5 separate regions of the Homo sapiens genome follow, and all the other regions are linked to region 5. The links are contacts of gene promoters, found by promoter capture Hi-C in human tissues and cell types (Jung and others, 2019). All regions are on one chromosome and are shown on one strand. The core of a region is centred on a gene start or on the middle of the fragment in contact, and the rest is flanking DNA. Distances in the headings are between cores, read along the strand shown. Region 1 overlaps NDUFS6 (NADH:ubiquinone oxidoreductase subunit S6). Region 2 has its middle 73 kb from the start of LPCAT1. Region 3 holds the start of AHRR (aryl hydrocarbon receptor repressor). Region 4 holds the start of PDCD6 (programmed cell death 6). Region 5 holds the start of BRD9 (bromodomain containing 9).

The links. Contacts are between HindIII fragments. The study calls those that stand out against the background at their distance.
Region 1: a fragment that was not itself captured here is called in contact with the fragment with the promoter of BRD9 in region 5 in 1 of the 25 tissues and cell types used here (dorsolateral prefrontal cortex).
Region 2: a contact is called between a fragment that was not itself captured here and the fragment with the promoter of BRD9 in region 5, in 3 of the 25 tissues and cell types used here (aorta, bladder and heart right ventricle).
Region 3: a contact is called between the fragment with the promoter of AHRR here and the fragment with the promoter of BRD9 in region 5, in 2 of the 25 tissues and cell types used here (lymphoblastoid cells and mesenchymal stem cells).
Region 4: the fragment with the promoter of PDCD6 here is called in contact with the fragment with the promoter of BRD9 in region 5 in 2 of the 25 tissues and cell types used here (bladder and heart right ventricle).

The regions. Positions count from the first base shown.
Region 1 is chr5:1,815,138-1,817,837 of GRCh38, forward strand. It overlaps NDUFS6 (NADH:ubiquinone oxidoreductase subunit S6), which reads left to right. Exons shown (of 4, transcript NM_004553.6): 4 at 714-911. The coding sequence ends at 779. Among named protein-coding and RNA genes, the nearest start is that of NDUFS6, 15 kb to the left of the region's middle. RefSeq lists enhancers at 643-1,154, 1,876-2,377, 2,378-2,700. The HindIII fragment of the contact is 9,600 bases long and covers 1-2,700 here.
Region 2 is chr5:1,595,544-1,598,243 of GRCh38, forward strand. It overlaps the pseudogene PDCD6P1. Among named protein-coding and RNA genes, the nearest start is that of LPCAT1, 73 kb to the left of the region's middle. The HindIII fragment of the contact is 3,047 bases long and covers 1-2,700 here.
Region 3 is chr5:320,264-322,963 of GRCh38, forward strand. AHRR (aryl hydrocarbon receptor repressor) reads left to right here and starts at 1,451. Exons shown (of 11, transcript NM_001377236.1): 1 at 1,451-1,556. The region is part of intron 3 of PDCD6-AHRR (PDCD6-AHRR readthrough (NMD candidate)); the gene reads left to right. RefSeq lists silencers at 663-922, 1,073-1,562, 1,653-2,032, 2,043-2,102 and enhancers at 1,687-2,254, 2,343-2,462. The HindIII fragment of the contact is 29,634 bases long and covers 1-2,700 here.
Region 4 is chr5:270,396-273,095 of GRCh38, forward strand. It overlaps PDCD6 (programmed cell death 6), which reads left to right and starts at 1,251. Exons shown (of 6, transcript NM_013232.4): 1 at 1,251-1,426; 2 at 2,316-2,377. The coding sequence starts at 1,326. PDCD6-DT (PDCD6 divergent transcript) reads right to left here and starts at 1,129. Exons shown (of 2, transcript NR_104613.1): 1 at 950-1,129. It overlaps PDCD6-AHRR (PDCD6-AHRR readthrough (NMD candidate)), which reads left to right and starts at 1,251. Exons shown (of 13, transcript NR_165163.2): 1 at 1,251-1,426; 2 at 2,316-2,377. RefSeq lists enhancers at 1-292, 954-1,043 and a silencer at 1,334-1,543. The HindIII fragment of the contact is 6,729 bases long and covers 1-2,700 here.
Region 5 is chr5:891,452-894,151 of GRCh38, forward strand. It overlaps BRD9 (bromodomain containing 9), which reads right to left and starts at 1,350. Exons shown (of 16, transcript NM_023924.5): 1 at 1,155-1,350; 2 at 189-403. The coding sequence starts at 1,206. TRIP13 (thyroid hormone receptor interactor 13) reads left to right here and starts at 1,433. Exons shown (of 13, transcript NM_004237.4): 1 at 1,433-1,639. The coding sequence starts at 1,548. RefSeq lists silencers at 691-909, 1,100-1,719 and an enhancer at 719-1,351. The HindIII fragment of the contact is 22,788 bases long and covers 1-2,700 here.

The DNA.
Region 1 (2,700 bases), core at 167-2,666, 920 kb after region 5:
AGGACCATTGAGAAAAAAAAGAACACAGGACCGGAGAAAGAGACCGTGGGCTGAAGCTGGGATGTGGAACTGGGGTGCAGGGTGGGAGGGAGGCTGCCACAGATCACTCAGGGACTCGGGCGGCTGCTGACCTGGGGTGCAGGGAGAGGGGGAGGCCACCGACAGTGGAGCACTCAGGGACTCAGGCGGCTGCTGGGCTTGGTGTTCTCCCCAAAGCAGAGTCCTGGTTAAGGGACTTTAACTTCGTTAGAGCTGACATTTATTAAAAGCTGTCATTATCTTGTTGCCTGTCCTGAAAAGGGGACAGTGTAACAGGCATAAATGGTTAAGCAGCCTAGAGTGGGACTGGGCACCCGGCATGTCCCCTCCTGGGCTCCAGCCCTGAAGGCCAAGCCTGGTTGTGCCTCACTGTCGTGTGCAGCACCCACCGCCTGCTCCAGGCCGCTGAGGTGTGGGGAGTGAATGGAGCTGCAGGCTGACAGTGATGTCCCTGGGGGTCCTAGGGGATGGCTGCGTAGCCCGGGGTGGGAGCCTGAGGCCAGGGGCTTCGGTCAGCCTGGAACCGAGATCGACAGTCTGCATTCTTACTTCAGTAGTAACTGCGTATTTTTGTTTCTGACAGTCTAAGTTTTATACATACATTTTCAATGCTTAATATCTAGATTTGAAGTAGAATATGGAAATATGACATCATTCCTTTTGAATTTTTTCAGGACAAAGAAACAAAAACCGGCACATGCGGTTACTGTGGGCTCCAGTTCAGACAGCACCACCACTAGAGCGTGTGGCACGCCGGGGGTCCCGCAGCATCCTGTGAGCATTTCCGCGGGGAAGCTGAGCACGTGAAGCTCGCTGGTTCTGTGCGAAGGGTATTCCTGGTGCTGAATAAAGGGTGTTGCTGTCAAGGCTGACAATTTGTAAGTTTGTTTCTTTCATAGTCTGGGCTTTGGAAGTGAACATCCACGTGGACATGGGTAGACATGCGAGTGGAAGCAGTGCCCGCTCCAGTGAGCCTGAGCTGCCTCCTGCCGGCCGCTGCCTGCCTTACCGGCTGCTTCTGTGTGTCTCCTCTTATCCTTGGGGCCACGTGGGCTGCAGGAATGGGCGGGGGGCAGGGAAGGAGAAGGAGAAGTGCCTCTTGTTTTGCAGATGCAACTGTGCTTCAGAGAGCCAAGGTGGGTCTTGAGGTGCATAGTGAAGGAGGGTGCCCAGGCCTCAACTGGTCCTATGGGAAGGTCAGCCTCTCTCCTGTTGCTGGCTTGCAGAGCTGGTCTATCCGTCCGTCCTAGTCCCTATGTTGAAATGTCAGATCTTAAAACCCAAGAATTTAAGCACTGGTTTGAAGGCATCGAAAGTCACATACTGGCCACATTAAGGACAGTCTATGTTTTTAAAAGAGTAAGGATTATAATGTAGTGTAACATAAAAATAAAAGTAGATTTTGAGGGAAGAGAAAGGAGTCTTGCTAGAATGATCCAGGAGTCTGGCCTGTGAGTAACGGGAATTCCAGAGGAGGAAATACCAGAGCAGAGGGAAGGTAAGAGGGAAGGTGAGACGGAAGGTGAGAGGGAAGGCGAGAGGGAAGGCGAGTGGGAAGGCGAGAGGGAAGGCGAGTGGGAAGGCGAGAGGGAAGGCGAGTGGGAAGGCGAGAGGGAAGGCGAGTGGGAAGGCGAGAGGGAAGGCGAGAGGGAAGGCGAGAGGGAAGGCGAGTGGGAAGGCGAGAGGGAAGGCGAGTGGGAAGGCGAGAGGGAAGGCGAGAGGGAAGGTGAGAGGGAAGGTGAGAGGGATGGTGAGAGGGAAGGTGAGGCAGAAACAGCAGAAACACATTTCCCAAGCCAAAGAAAAACCCACAGATCACAGGGCTCACCAAGTTCCTAGCAGTATTGGTGAGAAAAGACAACTAGGCATATTCTGGTTTAAGAAAAGAATTAAGCTGTAAACTTTAGAGTCTAGAAAAAAGAAAACCTTTTAAGCGCATGGATGAAAACAAATTGTAGTGGAAAAGTGATCAGCGATCAGGTATCCACCTCTTTGTCTTTGATGCTGGAGGCTGGAAGAGTGAAACATTGTCCACAATCTTCATGCATAACCAAAGTTAAATTCCTTATCCTGAGAGGAAGACATTCTTGGATGTGGGAGAGTTCAGAGGTCATCATCCTGGACCCCACTGGGGAAGATACCTTGAGGAGAAGGCCTTACCCAGCAGACATGATCACAGCCCTCGGTGTGGGGAGGGAGGCTGAGGCAGGAGCGGCTGCTAGTGGGAACCAGTTCATTCCAGTGGCACGCTACCCAGACATGCGTGTGAGGCCATGCTCCCGGGCTGCAGGGACAGTCCAATCATGTTGCCCTTGGTGCTGAGTTGGGAGGTCTGGGAGGGGGAGAGGGAAGAAGGGGATGCAGGCATCCAGGAGGTCTCTGGGTTGGGTGGGTGGAGGTGGAAGGAGGCTGAAGCTCCCTCTTGGAGTGGCGTGAAAACAAAATGGAGACAGATGTGATGGAGTACATTGATGCCACCTGGATTCGAAATAACTGTGGCGACATCTGTGAGCTGTCCCCGTGAGGGCCCAGAGAGGGAAGAGCAGCAGGCCAGGAAACTGAAAATGTGGATGCAGAATAACCAGGGATGGGGAGAGGTGAAGGGGTGGGGCCAGGGGAAGGGGGAGAGAAGGGAGGAGCGAGGACTCAGAGCCAGGAGCC
Region 2 (2,700 bases), core at 132-2,631, 700 kb after region 5:
GTTAATTACCTAATTTTGTTTTGTTTTGTTTGAGACAGAGTTTTGCTGTTGTTGCCCAGGTTGGAGTGCAATGGCGCGATCTCAGCTCACTGCAACCTCTGCCTCCAGGGTTCAAGAGATTCTCCTGTGGAGCTTGCAGTGAGCGGAGTTCGAGCCACTGCACTCCAGCCTGGGCAACAGAGCAAGACTGCCCCTCAAAAAACAAAGAGATTCTCTCGCCTCAGCCTCCCGAGTAGCTGGGACTACAGGCCCCCGCCACCACGCCCAGCTAGTTTTTGTATTTTTAGTAGAGACAGGGTTTCACCATATTGGCCAGACTGGTTTCAAACTCCTGACCTCAGGTGATCCACCTGCCTCAGCCTCCCGAAGTGCTGTGATTGCAGGCGTGAGCCACCGTGCCTGGCCTTAATTTTTTAATTCTATAATTACCACATGTAGGGGTGGGTTGCCCCTCCACACCTGTGGGTGTTTCTCGTAAGGTGGAACGAGAGACTTAGGAAAGAAAAAGACACAGAGACAAAGTATAGAGAAAGAAATAAGGGGACCCGGGGAACCAGCGTTCAGCATATGGAGGATCCCGCCAGCCTCTGAGTTCCCTTAGTATTTATTGATCATTCGTGGGTGTTTCTCCGAGAGCGGGATGTGTCAGGGTCACAAGACAATAGTGGGGAGAGGGTCAGCAGACAAACACGTGAACAAAGGTCTTTGCATCATAGACAATGTAAAGGATTAAGTGCTGTGCTTTTAGATATGCATACACATAAACATCTCAATGCTTTACAAAGCAGTATTGCTGCCCGCAGGTCCCACCTCCAGCCCTAAGGCGGTTTTTCCCTATCTCAGTAGATGGAGCATACAATCGGGTTTTATACCGAGACATTCCATTGCCCAGGGACGGGCAGGAGACAGATGCCTTCCTCTTGTCTCAACTGCAAGAGGCATGCCTTCCTCTTATACTAATCCTCCTCAGCACAGACCCTTCACGGGTGTCGGGCTGGGGGACGGTCAGGTCTTTCCCTTCCCACGAGGCCATATTTCAGACTATCACATGGGGAGAAACCTTGGACAATACCTGGCTTTCCTAGGCAGAGGTGCCTGTGGCCTTCCGCAGTTTTTGTGTCCCTGGGTACTTGAGATTAGGGAGTGGTGATGACTCTTAAGGAGAGTGCTGCCTTCAAGCATCTGTTTAACAAAGCACATCTTGCACCGCCCTTAATCCATTTAACTCTGAGTTGACACAGCACACGTTTCAGAGAGCACGGGGTTGGGGGTAAGGTTATAGATTAACAGAATCTCAAGGCAGAAGAATTTTTCTTAGTACAGAACAAAATGGAGTCTCCTATGTCTACTTCTTTCTACACAGACACAGTAACAATCTGATCTCTCTTGCTTTTCTCCACACCACAAACCCCTTAGTATTAAGCTCCAAGACATATTTTTGTCATATCTTTATTGCTTATAATTTTCTATCTTTAGATATTAAGTATTTGTTGAAAATCCCATGAAAAGCTTTCAGAAATTGGATTGCATTTCTTGCTTATTATACATCCCTTGACTATTTTGTAATTGTGTGTATTTGTGGAGGTCACATGTAAATAAACTTAAAGTGACTCTACTTTGTGAAAATGTGAAACTTCGTGTAGGTACTCAGTAAATCAGTAAATTCTTACTAACGTTAGCCCCCAGCCTAGCTATGGAGGGTGCATGCTGAGCCCGAAGCAGAGAGCTCTGTAATCTCTGCATTCATCACCACCATGAGGAGGCCTCAGAAGCTTCTAGCACTGTTTGCACCTTCCCCACATCACCCCTCCCTGCCTTCCTCACAGTCTTCCTTCTGATCAGAAGACCCTTTCCTTCTTTCTCTGCCTGTCAAAATGCTGCTCACTCTTCAAACCCTAGCTCATATGAAAGTGTCTGGTGTGAGCCCACTTTTATTGAGTTGATTCTGTATCTTTGATACAACTGTATGAGGGTTCTCCAGAGACACAACAAATAGAAGGGAGACGTAAGAAATTGGTTTAAAGGTTCAATTGCTAATCTCATCCAAAAACACCCTTACAGACACGCCCAGAAATAATGCTTAACCATGTATCTGAGCACCTCATGATGCCGTCAAGTTGACAAACAAAATTAACCATCGCAGCAGCCATACATTTAAATATATTTGTACCAGAGAACTTACCTGATTCTACCTGCACTTCAGATGCTTAAGACATGTCTGTTTTCTCCACTTTCCCCAACCAGATTGTGAGTCGCTTTCACCTAAGGTCTTGTTTTTTTTTCCTTTTTCTTTTTCTTTTTTTTTGAGACGGAGTCTCGTTCTGTCACCAGGCTGGAGTGCAGTGGCGCGACCTCGACTCACTGCAACCTTCACCTCCCAGGTTCAAGCGATTCTCCTGCCTCAGCCTCCCGAGTAGCTGGGACTACAGGTGCCCGCCACCATGCCCGGCTCTGGTCTAGTTTTTTTCTTCTTTGAATCCCGTAGGGCCTCAGTGCTGTGCAGCAAGCACATAGTTAAAACTGAAGAAAAATTTCTTGAATAAAAGTAGTTAACGTTTTTATTCTTTACTTCAAGGTATATCTCCATGAATAACCTAAATGATCCCCCAAATTGGAATATCCGGCCTAATTCCAGGGCGGATGGTGGTGATGGAAGCAGGTGGAATTATGCCCTGTTGGTTCCAATGCTGGGATTGGCTG
Region 3 (2,700 bases), core at 201-2,700, 570 kb before region 5:
CTGAGATCGCACCACTGCTCTCAGGCCTGGGTGACAAAGCAAGACTCTGTCCCAAAAAAGCCCATTTACTCAGCTCACATTTTTGAGCCTCTGCTATTCGACAGGAACCAGAGGTGAGCAGAGCCGACTTGGTGACCCCTGGGGACAGAGCGGCAGAACTCAGCAATTCTGGGCTGCCCTGCAGGAGCTACACCCGGGGAGGGGCGGTGGCCACTTGGGGGCAGGGTGGGCTTCTCAGCTGCGCCCACCCCACCTTGGGAGCTGTGTCTGGAAAAGAGACTTTTCCTGAGCCGACAGCAGACAGCGAGTGCAAAGGCCCCAAGGCCCGCACGCCTTATTCAGAGAACAGCAGGAGGCGCGGGGCGGGTTGGGGGCGTCAGGGAGACGGGGTTTGACTGAGAACCTGGGGGCGCCAGTGACAGCCTCGGCCGCGTTGCTGAAAACCGACCTTGCGGGATGAAGAGGGCGCGGTTCCCCCGGCTGGGATGAGGACCGCGGATGCTGAGGAGCGGACTCCAGGGACCACCGACTCCATGGCCGGCCCCAGCGAGGGCGAGAACGGGTGGAAGCCGGCCAGGGTCTGTGGAGACGTCAGGGTGCGAGGCCAGGCTGAGGTGTCCCCAGGGATCCCCTGAGGGTACAGGGAATTCAGCCAGGGCCTGCGCGCCCGGACGGAGGACTAGAGGGGGCCAAGGACCACCGGGAGGGGGAAGGAGAAGGCGCAGCCCGAGGTCGGAGGGGCCGGCGGGCGCGCAGAGGGCGCGGGGTGAGCCCTAAGGACCTGCAGGCAGGACCCTGCTCTCGGCCGCGCGGTCCCGGGTGCCGACCGGCGGGGTGGGCGGGGCAGGGGCACCCAGGGCCGCACACCTGCCGCGTGGGACCCTGAAATGCCCAGGACGAAGAACGTCGCACGGACGACCCTGCCGTGCCTGGCGCGCGTCCGCTTCCTGGGAAGCTCAGGATCCAAAAGCATCTTAATATTCTCTATAATTCGCCAAAAACCATGACTCCTTTTACATTTTCGAAACGACCTCATGGGGCAGGCGAGGGGGCACACGCTCTCCTCACTTTACCTGTTCGGGTCTACACCGCCCGGCTCTAGGGCCGGCAGCTCAGCACAGCCGGCCGCGAGCGCTGGGGAGGGGACGGGGGCGCAGGGAGAACCGGGGGACCCTGGGCGCACACAGACCCCAGGGGGAACGCAGGGCCTGGAGGGGCTCAGCGCGCGACCCCCGCCTCGGGGCACGGAGACTCCGGGGGATCACTGGGACGCGAAGGGCGCAGGGCGGACCCCAGGGGAACCGGATGGCGTCTCCGGTTCGCCAGGGCAGCTGGGGCAGCCGGACCCGAGACAGCCGGACCCGCGGGCGCCCTCTGCCGCCTCCCGGCCCTGGATGCTGCGGGGCGGGGCGGGCGGCTCGCGTGCCGGGGTGGGGCAGTCCCTGGAGCCGCCGCGGGTTCCCGGGATGCGAGCGCCGGCACCCGCCGCCACAGCTCCTGGCCAGGGCGCGCTGCCCCGCGGGTGTGCCTGAGCCTCCGCGCCCCGCAGGCCCTGGGTAAGTGTCCTGGGCGCCCCCGCAGGCCCCCGCCGCGTGCCGCCCGCGGTGGAGACGGGATGCGCTCCCGGGTGTGGGGCTGAGGGACGGGCGCCGGCGTCGGGACCCTCCTCACGCCGCATCCTCGCGTCGCCAGGCCCGGCGGCCCCGGGACGGGGCGGACACTCTGGGGTGCGGCTGGCTGGTCTCACTTAAAACTCGGACCTCGGAGGGAAGCCGCGGCGCGTCCACGGTTCGTGGTCCTCAGCGTCCCCTCGAGAGTGTTCTGAGCCTTCACTCCCCGGGCGTTCCGTGCGGGCCGCGCTCCCTGGGGCTGGGCGGGTGCGGGCGGCGGAGCGGGGCCCCGCTGTCGGGCCGAGGGCGCCAGGTCCGGGGGGCCTCACCCCCGGGAAAGGCCCATGTTCAGGCTTGGTTTCAGTAGCACCCAGTAGCGCTGAAGTCTTATTTTGAGCGGCCAGAATTCCCAGACCGGATGCCCTGAGAGAGCGATGTGGCGCCTGGAGTCCACGCTGGGACCCCTTCTGGGGAGGGGTCGCCATGGGCGCGTGACAGGCAGGGGCCACCCTCTGACCTCTTCTGCGAGGCCGGAGGTCAGAGACCTTGTGCAGAAGCGTCCCACGGGCCTGTCCCACGGGCCTGTCCGGCTGTGGCCTCCGGGATGGCAAGGGCAGGCGGGGAGGGGCTTCCTCCCTGGGCCTCCTGTGCGCGCGCACAGGCTCTCGTCTGCGGGGTTCTTGCAGAAGGGTGGGCGTGTGCGCGCGTTCTCCAAACGCCACCCCCACGGGGCCTCACAGCCGCCCCGGCCTGGCAACCGTCACCCATTTTACGAACGAGGACATCAAGGTAGGTCGCTCATCCAGCCTCTCAGAGCAAGTGACTGGCGGCGTTTGGACTCGGGCCGAGTGTGCCATACCCATCCCGCACAAAGCCGGGGCTCGATGCGGCCCCAGAGTCGCTGAAAAGCCACGAGTAACAAGAACTGGAGAACGTAGGATGCTGACCCGGCGGACGCCGCCGCCTGGGGAGCCGCTTCGACGGGGGGGACGCCACCGCCTGGGGAACGGCTTTTATTTTCGTTTTCTTACTTATCTGTATTCTCTAAAATGAACAGACACGAGTTTTACCACGGGAGAAAGGTTCTTAG
Region 4 (2,700 bases), core at 1-2,500, 620 kb before region 5:
CCCAAAGCTGGGCACTTCCCAATTCCGGGATTTGTGCTACAGGCACTCCAGGCTCCACCTTAGAACTGTGTCCAGCACGAAGGCAGTGCTGTCTTGCGGGAGGCAGGGCTGCACCACCACCGGGGTGTGAAGGGGCCCAGCAGGCAGGGGTGTGAAGGGGCCCAGCAGTGTTTCCAGCTGCACGGGGTCAGGGGCCGCGCTGATGCAGAGCACGGGGGCGCAGGTTAAACCTAAAGGAGGGAAGCTTTTGGGGGCGGAACAGACAACCGAGAATGCTGCACACTGCCTTTCCCACCCGAATTGTGTTTTGACTTTTTTTTTTTTTTTTTTTTGAGACAGAGTTTTGCACTTGTTGCCCAGGCCTGGAGTGCAATGGCCCGATCTCGGATCACTGCAACCTCCTCCTCCCGGTTTCAAGCAATTCTCCTGCCTCAGCCTCCCGAGTAGCTGGGATTACAGGTGTGCACCATCACGCCCGGTTAGTTTTGTATTTTTAGTAGATACGGGGTGTCTCCCAATTGGCCAAGGCTGGTCTCGAACTCCCGACTTCAGGTAATCCACTGGCCTTGGCCTCCCAAAGTGCTGGGATTACAGGCGTGAGCCACCGCGCCCGGCCTGCTTTTGCTTTCTTTTTTTTTTTTTTTTTTTTGGCAGAGTCTCGCTGTCCACCCCTGTAGTGCAGTGAGCTCGGCTCCCTGCGGCCTTGACCTCCCGGGCTCAGGCAATCCTCCCGCCTCAGCCCACGGAGTAGATGGGACCACAGGAGCCCACCACGCCCGACTACTTTTTGTAATTTTTGTAGGGATGGGGTCTATCCATGCTGCCCAGGCTGGTCCGAACTGCTGGGCTCAAGAGCTCCGCCCGCCTCCGCCTCCCAAAGGGCAGGGATCACAGGTGTGAGCTACCGCGCCCCGCCCAGAGTTTCCGACTGTTAGCAAATCACATTCACCTCAAAACTATTTATACAAGAACTGAAAGGCAAACTAAGTCCGTGCTCCATCACTTCCTGTCCCAGGTCGCGGGGCCGGACATTTTCTCCAAGCGCTTTCCTGGCACAGCGCGCAGGCGGCCTGCGCCAAAGCTCTGGCTTCCTCCAGGCGCCCAGACCCCGCCCTCCCCGCAGGCGCCAGGGCGTTGCCTGGCAACTTAGCTGCGAGGGGATTGGCTGCGCGGGACCCCGTGACCATCCCGGAGACCACGCATTTCCTGCGCCCCCGGAAGTGGTGATAATGCCAGGCCCTGCCCCCGGCAGAGGCGGAAGCGGAGTCGGCCTGAGAGGTCTCTCGTCGCTGCAGGCGCCTCAGCCCAGCCGCGTGCCTTGGCCCATGGCCGCCTACTCTTACCGCCCCGGCCCTGGGGCCGGCCCTGGGCCTGCTGCAGGCGCGGCGCTGCCGGACCAGAGCTTCCTGTGGAACGTTTTCCAGAGGTGCGGCCTGGCACCGCCCGGGCACCTCCCGCCTCCGCCGCGGCGGCCCCGACCCCTGTCCCGACTCCCCCGACCAACCCCGTTCCCTGCCGGTTCTACTGCGGCCTCCTCCGTCCCCTGTCGGGTCCCCCGCGGCCCCCTCCCGTCCCCTGCCGCCGCCCCCGACCCCTGCCCCAGCCGACGCGGCCGCCCCCGTCCCCTGGCGGGTCCCCCGCGGTCTCCCCCGTCCGCTGCCCGGTCTCCTGGGGCCGCCCCTGCCTCCTGCCCGGTCCCTGTCCTGTGCGTCGGGCCCTTCCCAAGATGCAGAGTGCGCCACTGCAGACCCGAGGTCGCGGCCACCGGCTCCTGGGCTAGGCCCTTTTTCTCGCCTCAAGAGCCGCCAGGTGGAGGGTCTCCAGGGTGCTTGTTTGGGGAAAGCGGAAACAGACTGCCTGGGCGCTGTTAAAATGTCAGCAGCCAAGGAAGAAGCAGCGACCTGGCGTCTGCTCGGGCCAGGTGACCTTTATGGCGGCGCCTTCTGTCCCTGGTCGCTTTTCCACCGAATGTCCGAAACTGTAGTGACTGATGGCCAGGGAATGGCTTAGTTATCTGAGGGAATCTTGTCTTGTCTGTGAAAAAGGGAAACGGGTGCAAATGGGAATTCAGACAGGCCAGGAGAGGAAGGAAGGGAAGGATTGAGGTGAAGATGATTGTCCTCTTAGGGGAAGACCACACTGGACGTCGGCTCCTGGGGCACTTCCTTGATTCCGCTGTACTCCTCAGCGGGACGGGAGAGGCGGAGGTTCCAGGAGGGAGCCTTCCAGAGTCGGTGCAGGGTTGACAGAAGACGTTTGTTTTGCTTTTCCTGAACTTTCGATCGCCAGCTTATTTGGTCTTCTTGATGTTATAGGGTCGATAAAGACAGGAGTGGAGTGATATCAGACACCGAGCTTCAGCAAGCTCTCTCCAACGGTGAGTGGGCCAGTGGGAACTGGGTCTCCGGACCAAGAAGCCGCGAGCCTGCCCTGTTCACAGTGGATAACTTTCTGAAGTTGTTTTTCCAAGGACAAAGGAATCATTAGGACAAATTGTTATTACTGCTTCGTAGTGGAGATGCTTCTGGTTTATTTTGTGGCTACCGCTGTTACTGCTTGGAGTGCCTCACCGAGCCAGCTAACAACTGCGTGCGTGAGCACAGGGAAAGGCTTCTTGAGAAATGAAAACTAGATTGTAGGTTTAGGAGGGGAATAGGAAGCTTAGCTCTGTACAGCCGAAAGCCTTTTGGTAAGTTGGAG
Region 5 (2,700 bases), core at 100-2,599:
TGCTGAGGAACAGCACACCCAGGATCCTGGAACTGAGTCTGCGGGCCTCAGCGGTTCGCGTTTTGCTACCAACGGAACACCCCCTCCCCTCCTCCAGCCACGCAGGCGCACTCTGCCTGGGTCCTGGGACCAGGCTCCCCACGGGCTCCTCGTGGGCAGCGTCCGGGCCACCGCCGCTGCTCCTTTACCTTTCGCTTCCTTCTTTCCTCATCGTCCAGATGCTTCTCCTTCTCGGACTTCTTCTTCTTCTTCTTTTTCTTTTCTTTGTGCCTCTCTCGCTCATGGTCTGACCTGTCATCATAGTAACTGGAGTCGTGGCCGGATCCTGAGAGTTCAGTCACTTCACTTCCTCCGACCTTCAGGACTAGCTTTAGAGGCTTCTCCAGGGGCTTGTCGGCATAATCTGCACAGACACAGACCGAGTTCTACCCGCGTGCTCAGGTGCAAACGCCACGCAGCCAGGTGAGACGTGAAGGTGCTAAGAGGGAAAGGCCTCCCTAAGGAGTACAGCGGGGCTGCCAACCAGCAGGGAAAGACGGAAGGGAAGACCACAGTGGCGGCATGTCACTGCCTCCTTGTTCTCCCTTCCCCTCCGCAGGGAGCTTCAGGTCCCTTTCGAGCCACGGTGTCCTCACCAGAGGCCCTGTGGGATGTTGTTCACATTACTCGTTCAAGAAGATGGATTAAGAGGGACCTGGAACCCCGGAGCCCGATCTCCCTCCTAGAAACCCCCAGCACTTCGGTTCACCCTCGCCTGACTTCCTGCAGGCGCCCGTGCTGCCCGCTGACACCCATGGAGCTGCTGCGGGAGCAAGGGAGAGGGAGGGAAAGGCGGGAGAAAGGGCAGCCCAGCTTCTCCCTGAGCTCCACACAAAAGCCAGCACAGATGCTTCCCTAGTCTCCAGGACCGGGGTGAGTGGGCTTGCAGCCTCGAACCCAGAACCCTCTACCAGGAACGTAAGCGCCTACCCAGGACCCCTCACGTGTGCCCGGTTCCCTGCCCGAAATCCCAGGACCCCCTCCCGCGTGCCCAGAACCCCTCCCTCGTGGCCAGGACCTCGCCCGGTGCCCAGGACCCCCGTCCGCGTGCCCGGAACTCCTCCCCCGTGCCCGGGACCCCGCCCGCCGCGCGTCACAAAGCGCCGCCGCCTCACCCTCGTAGGACGAGCGCCACTCGGCCTTGTGCTTCTTGTGCTTCTTGCCCATGGCGGCGCCGGCGGCGGGCCCGAGGCGGGGGCTGGGAACAGCTGGCACCCGGTCGGACCTTGGCCGCCACCGCCCCCTGGCCCTGGCTGGCCGCCCGCGCTCGCTGCGCCGAGGTTGCCGAGCTCGCTGGGCCGCGCCGGAAACGGGGCGAGGCGGGGCCGCGGCAGGAAGTGGCCCTGCCGGGCCCGAGCGCTTCCGGGTCAGGAGGTGGTGCGCCTCGCGCGGCAGATTCGAAGCTAGGGCGGGGCCCGCGGGCTGAGGCAGCGGCTGTGGCGGCGACGCTGGGCGTGAGGTGGCGGCGGCCGCGCCCTGGTTGGGTCCCCACTGCTCTCGGGGGCGCCATGGACGAGGCCGTGGGCGACCTGAAGCAGGCGCTTCCCTGTGTGGCCGAGTCGCCAACGGTCCACGTGGAGGTGCATCAGCGCGGCAGCAGGTGAGCCGGACCTGTCCGACACATCCTCTGGGCACCCACCCGCCCCGACCCCAGCGCGTGCACCGAGCCCCGACCCCAGCGCACTGATTCTGATGCGACCGAACCCCAGGGTACTGATCCGGCCCGACTGGACCCGGGCGCACAGGCCGCCGGGCCCCGACCGGATCCTAGCGCAATGACGCGACCCCACCGCAGGGCACTGACCCGGCCGACCCGAGCCCTGCGCGCAGGACCCCAGCTCACAGATTGAGCCCCGACCCGACCTCAGCTCACGGACCTGGCCCTGACCCTGCCCCTGCCCCGGCTGTCCTCCAGTGCATTGATGTGGCCCTGAGTCCCACGTTGGAGAATAGGATGGCTGCGCATTACAGAGAGCTCTAGTCTCAGCCGAAAGCTGGGTGGTTATTCTTTGAGCCACTGCTTCTCAGACCCTTTAATTGTTCCCGTTCCTCACGGACTCGATGTTAAATTTTTAGGGTTCAAAGCACATCCCACTCATTTGTGACCAAGTCAGTTCATGGTATGGTGGGGCCTGTGGGCTGTGCTGCTCCCTGGAGTGGGGGGAACTCAGCGGCGGGGCCAGACCTTCACAGACCCTCCTTATGTCCACGGAGGGTGGATTGAGGTCAGGTGAGACCACCAGCCTCAGAGGGGATGCAGAGGAAGAGACCTTTCCTTTAACAGAATAGCTGTTGACTGGGTATTTTCTAGGTGCTGGAGTTCAGACACGTCAGCATAATTGCACCAGGGCCCAGAGACACCTGCACAAAGCCCCATCACAGCCTGGCGACACCTGTGTAAACACCTTAGCGCTCAGAGACACCTGTACACAGTGCCACCGCAGCCTAGAGACACCCCATGTACAACCACACCTGGGCCCAGAGACGCTAGGCATAATCACACCAGAGCACAGCTGCACCTAGAGGACAGACACCTACGTACAACTGCACCAGAGTTCATAGACACCTGCACACAACCGCACTATGCATGGTGGTCGCTGCTTGTAGGGTGCTGGGACGATTGCAAAGGGGCCACATGTCACCTGCCTGGCTCTGAGGAGC